2 separate regions of the Homo sapiens genome follow, and region 2 is linked to region 1. Evidence: promoter capture Hi-C in human tissues and cell types (Jung and others, 2019). All regions are on one chromosome and are shown on one strand. Each heading gives the region's core, a stretch centred on a gene start or on the middle of the fragment in contact. The rest is flanking DNA. Distances are from core to core; before and after follow the strand shown. Region 1 overlaps SZT2 (SZT2 subunit of KICSTOR complex). Region 2 holds the start of HYI (hydroxypyruvate isomerase (putative)).

Region 1 (2,967 bases), core at 79-2,578:
GGACAGACTGTGTAGCCCTTTAAAGCTGAATCCAGAAGGATGGAACCATAAGCCCAGCTTATGTCACCGACTTGGGAGAAAAGCCCCTAAATGGTGGCAGGACCTCATGATGTGGCCACTGCACACTAGCATAAGCCACCTTCCCATCAGTGTTAGGCTGACAGCGTGGACTGAGTGTGAAGACAGCACAGGACCAAGGAAGCTGTAGTCTTCAGGGAGTACACAGTTCATGGTGGCTGGTGGTGGATGCACACAGGTGAAGGCGGCTGGGGAAGCCCAGAGTATGTCACGTGGAGATGGGGCAAGGGCTCACGGTCTGCTGGGACTGGGATACCACCACCTAGACACTGTGTGAGTCTTTGCCTCTGCCACCTGTGCTCTGTTCAGGACAGCCTGTCTGTATAGATCCTCCTCTTCCCCGGGGCCTTAGGGAGAAGAGAAGCTCTCAAGGTTAAAGCTTGGGCTTCTGGCTTAGGTGCCTTAGACGTGAGACAGAAAGGAATAGAAGGTGGTGGTCCTGGGCTCCAGATGCTGTGCAACCCAAGTTGACATGAAATGGGGCTACTATACTTCAGAGCTACTCACCGGGGTGGTGGAGCCTGGAGGGATGTAGAAGAGTGGCACTCCGCTCTTGGTGCTGTCAGGAAGCGTGAAATGCTCAGGCACTGAGGAGAAGGACTGAAGGTGGGCAAGCATCTGGTCTGTCTGGTTGATGCTGTAGAATAAGGGCCAGGCCTGAGCCATATCTGACTCTGCTGGGTGCAGATGAGGGGAGCCTTAGGGGGACATGGGACCCTGGATATAAGCCTGGTTCTCTGGGTGATGCTCCCCAGCTCCCGCCTTTGCAAATCTGTCCCTCCATACAACAAATGGGGCAGCACTCATTGAGTGATGACTTCACTGACCTCTGCAGCGTGTTCCAGAAACGCCGGATAACATGGGTACGATACAATGAACGAATGGGCTGCCTTAGTGCACAGGACACATCATGCAAAATGTCGTAGCCGCCTTCCATCGTCACTTCCACCCGTGTTACTCGAGGGCCCTCAGGCTCCAGGGGCCAGGGTGCCATAGCCACATACTCAATGCGCATGTTGTGTTTCCACAGCAGCACCAGCTTTACCTCCAATTGGGACCCTCCTTAGGGAGAAGCGGAAGGGCCAGTTAGGAGAAGGCATAGGACTCTAGGCCTGGGATCGAGTTCTATCTGAAACCCCCACCTACCTCATGGAACCCAGTCCTGCCAAAGGTTCCAAGCATGGTTCCACAGGTTTCAGGCCCAGAGTTGGCCCACTGACACAAACACAAGTTTGTAGAAACAATCTGAAAACTAAGCCAAGTTCAGGACCCTATACCACCCTCAGCTGGTTCACCTTGGGCAAAAGGAGATAGAATTGGGAAGCTCCATGCTAAGAGAATTAAGCCCTGATGACAATTCAAAACCCACTGTCTCAAGTGATAAGGACTTCAATGTGACACTCTTTCATGTGTGATACATGTGGGTCTTCCCACACACAAATTCTTGAGAGATCTATGGGATTACAGCAGGGCCTAATGACCCTTACCTTTGGCCAGTGTGACCTCTCGGACACTGTAGCCCTCTCGAAGCCGTACGGACACAGTGCTGACCAAGTCGGCTGGCACCTCCTTCTCAGTGTGCTTCTTCCGGCGCAAGGCCAGGGCAGGGTTGCTGCTTGCAGAGACCAGGTGCTCATTAAATAGGCGGTGCTGAGAGCCTGGAAGACCAGTGGAGATGGGGAAGGAGAAACTGGTTATCTGCCAACTGACAGATCTGTAGGGGGAAGGGGCTATGCTGAAATGACTGTGAGGTAACAGTGCCAGCAGAGCCAGCCCCAGTTACACTTTCAGTCCTCCAGGGCCCCATCATCTCTGGGCCCATTCTATATTCCCTCCTTCCCACACCCACCTCAGTGTGCCTCTCACCGCAGTAATATTCAGGGTTCAGTGCTTCCCCACTGCGCAGGAAGGAATAGAGGAGAAATGCCCGGTGGTAGACAGTCAGACCCAGGTTGCCTGGCTCCGGCTCAGGACAAGTGGACAGGTAGGACCCAAATGTTGCCATTGCGATGAACTTCATTAATTCCACATTGGGCACATGGCCAAAACTGCAGTCATAAGAGTAAACTCCTCCCACCTGGAAAAAGTGAGCAACTGAAGACCTAGCTCTGACAGAGGCATAGGAGAAGGAAGAACAGGAGAGAAAGAGACTGGGCTAGGTGGCTGCTCCCATTCCCTGGACCACAGAGTGGGAAGTAGGCCAGTGTTTTCCCAGGACAGACCACTGTCTGTGTCTTTCCTTCCTTAAGCCCTTCTGTCTGATGCCCATGCTAACCGGCCACAGCATCCTCTTTGCTTCCTCCTCGATACCTAAAGGCCCACCACCTCCTTCACTAAAGATTTTGGCAACTGGTTCACTGACTTCCTGTCATCATCCTGAGAGACTTCAGCTTACCAACACTTCTCAAACTTTAGGGTGTATGAAAAACACCTGGGGATTTTGTTAAAATGCAGTAGGTCTGGGGTGGGGCCTGAGATTCTGCATTTCAAACAAGCTTTCTGCTGGTCTGTGGACTACATTTTGAATACAATAGCTGTAGGTGGGAAATTAGCAAACTACATATACCCTGAGGGCCAAATCTAGTCCATCACCTATTTTTGTGAATCGAGTTTTATTGGAACACAGCCACACACATTCATTTTGTATTGTCTGTGGCTGCTTTCACGCTTCAACAGCAGAGCTGAGTAGCTGTGACGGACCAAGTGGCCCACAAGGCTTAAAGACTGACTGGCCTTTGCAGAAAGTGTTTGCAGACCTGCTCCAGATTACTCATTCAAGTCCCTGCCCTCTCAGTTCCTTAACTCTCATCTCCAGTAACTTACTCTATTCCATTCACCTGCCTATAGGCTACACGCTGGCTCTTGGCTTCATGTGGAACAAATTCATCT
Region 2 (2,731 bases), core at 6-2,505, 33 kb before region 1:
GATATAAATTTATATTTTTCAAAGGAAATTTAAGATATCAACAACTTAAATATGTTCCTATTTTTGACCATGTAATTCTACCCATAAGAACCTGCCCAATCAGTTGGGTTATTGTAGATGAAAGTAAAATCATTCAAATTATCTCAAGAAACATTAAGAGGCTATACAGAGACAGAAACCCAGGAAAGTCTAAGCATCCCAGCCTTAAGTGCACAGACCTGGGGGCAGCTATGGGTTTGGGCACCCTTGGGATGACATGGGTTTCTCAGGGTGCTACCTCTATTCACAGGACTTGGTTCCCCTCCTTTCCGCTCTAGCTTTTCTTTACCATAGGACTGTCTTATTTCGTTTCTACAGCCCAGTCACCTTCTGGCAACACCACCTGTTGACTCTCAGCATTTCCTTGTTTGAACTCTTGATTGGTTAAATTACCTTTCCAAACGACGCAAGTAAGAGGTTTTTGGCCAGTCTATGGATTGGCTGCCCTGGGATCAGATGACCTCCCTGGTCCAATCAGCTGAGGCTAAGGCTAAAAAGGGACAGCTCACCCATAGCTGCTCCAATGGGGCGGTTTCCCTTGCAAAAGACTAGCGGCGTGAACGGGCAAACACTGTGATGGACATCTCTAGAAAAAGACTCGGAAAAGAGTCAGAGATAGGGACTAAGAAGTGCCTGAAAGTGCGCTTGCAGCGCGCGTGCACACACACGATATCCAACCACAAAGTACAATAATGACTTGCTGCTTAGGTGTGCGACAATGAGCAGCGAAGGCACTGACTTTGAAGGCTATTGGAAAACACGAGGAAATGCTCACAAAATAATATTCCATGAAAAAGAGCTATAAAACAGCATATACCGAATGATCAGAATTTCCAAAGAAAAAAATTGCATATTTTAAAATTTGGACGGGAAAGCCAACAGGCTAGTGGTGTGATAACTGGCGGTATAAAAGTGCTTCTTTATTTGGTCATACAGCTTTCAAATGTTGCTTAACGAACAGATAGCATTTTTATAATCAGAGGAAAGACTCAGTATTAAAGTGCGCGTCCCATCATTGCAACCGGGCCCTCGGGCAGCCAGCTCTCTCTTGCTTCGCGTCCGGCTCTCAGGCCCTGGAGCTCGGCCTCCCTACCTTCTCCAGGCGCGGGTCCTGCTCCTTTTCCGGCCGCCCTCGCTCCGCCCCTTCGCCTCTCCCCGTGATCCCTCTCTCGCTAACCGTAGGCGCTTTTCGTGAAGGCCCGGGTTTTTACAGCACTTCGCTTTTCTAACCACGAACAGTGCTCGTTCGTTCGCAGGGCCAGCAAGGAGAGCCCCGCCCCCGCCCGCCGCCCGCCGCCCGCCGCCCGCCGCCTTTGGATCCCGCGGACTCCGCCCGGCCCGGCCTCCCCAGGCATGGCGCCGCTGCGCTTCTCCGCCAATCTGTCCTGGCTATTCCCCGAGCTCTCCGGCCTCCCCGCGCGGGTGCGGGCCGCGGGCAGCTCGGGCTTCGAGGCCGTCGAGGTGGCCTGGCCGTACGCGGAGACGCCTGAGGCGCTGGCGCGCGCCGCGCGAGAAGCGGGGCTGCGGCTTGTACTGATCAACACGCCCCCGGGTGCGTCGCGGGCCGGGAGGGCTGGGAGGGCTGGGGGGTGCCGGGGCGCGGGCAGGGGAGTGTCCGAGCCGGGGGCTGAGGCCCGTTCTCTCTGCAGGAGACCAAGAGAAGGGGGAAATGGGGCTGGGGGCCGTCCCCGGGAGACAGGCGGCCTTCCGAGAGGGACTGGAGCAGGCCGTGCGGTATGCCAAAGCCCTGGGCTGTCCCAGGTACCCCGCTCCACCCCACCCCCACCCCTGTGACCCATGACCCTGATGCAGGTTCAGGGAGTCGAGGACGCCAGATCTGAGACGCTCAGAAGTCTGAGCCCACTGGTTTATCTCTGCCTCTGCGGTCCTGGTCCTTTGTAAATTGCCTTTTGTATTTTATCTGTCTTATGCCACTCTGTTTGCCACTCTTTCATGCTCACCCCATGCTGGGATCCCATGCTGGGAGCTCAGTCTGCCTAGGCAGATAGGAGAGTAAATATATACAGTGATGCATTTGAGGACAGGCCTATTCCAGGAAGCTGTGGGAGCAGGGTAGGCACCTAACCCTGTCTGGATCAGAGAAAGCTGCTTACAGGTAGTGATGCTTGGACTGTCTTCAAGGAGTGGGCATTGCTTGATGGGCAGGAAGTTGAGTGTTCCTTGCAAGGGTGCTGTGGCAAGAGGAGGCCTGGTGTATTTGGCAGCGTTCCTGAGGCTGGACATGTATGTAGCCTGTTGGGATGGGGAGGCCTGGAATGTCTGCTTGGAGCTGGATGTGGCTAAGATCAGGGGATGATGGGAGGAGGTGGACGGCTCAAAGTGGGGCTGATTCAAATGTCAAATCCTGCAGAGGCCAAACAGGCTCAGAAGGAACTGGCAAGAGGGGATCACTACTGGTCAATGGTGGGGGCAGAAAACAGATGGGAAAAGGCTAAGTAGATGCGAGGAGAGGAAGTAGAGACAGCAGCATGGAATACCTGAGAAGGGCAAGCAAAGGTCAGGACAATTTTTAAAGGTGAGAATTTAGCAGGTTACAGGTTGCGGAGAAGGACCGAGGGAAGGAAAGGTTTTGGAAAGTACTGGAGGCAGGAGGCGGTGGGTGGACACTGAGATGTCTGGGAAAGGGCTTGCCCCTCAGCCATCACTGAAGTGTCTCTGAAAGTGCTGGGAT

The links. The method cuts DNA at HindIII sites, captures the fragments that hold promoters and counts their contacts. A contact is called where the count stands out against the background at its distance.
Region 2: a contact is called between the fragment with the promoter of HYI here and a fragment that was not itself captured in region 1, in 2 of the 25 tissues and cell types used here (H1 embryonic stem cells and pancreas).

What each region holds. Positions count from the first base shown.
Region 1 is chr1:43,418,922-43,421,888 of GRCh38, reverse strand. SZT2 (SZT2 subunit of KICSTOR complex) reads right to left here. Exons shown (of 72, transcript NM_001365999.1): 8 at 1,945-2,155; 9 at 1,566-1,736; 10 at 906-1,140; 11 at 586-715. Among named protein-coding and RNA genes, the nearest start is that of MIR6735, 28 kb to the left of the region's middle. The HindIII fragment of the contact is 6,068 bases long and covers 1-2,967 here.
Region 2 is chr1:43,452,455-43,455,185 of GRCh38, reverse strand. HYI (hydroxypyruvate isomerase (putative)) reads left to right here and starts at 1,255. Exons shown (of 8, transcript NM_001190880.3): 1 at 1,255-1,591; 2 at 1,689-1,800. The coding sequence starts at 1,393. It overlaps SZT2 (SZT2 subunit of KICSTOR complex), which reads right to left. Exons shown (of 72, transcript NM_001365999.1): 72 at 939-2,731. HYI-AS1 (HYI antisense RNA 1) reads right to left here and starts at 1,259. Exons shown (of 2, transcript NR_174945.1): 1 at 1,133-1,259. RefSeq lists silencers at 1,219-1,518, 1,629-1,688 and an enhancer at 2,479-2,731. The HindIII fragment of the contact is 20,604 bases long and covers 1-2,731 here.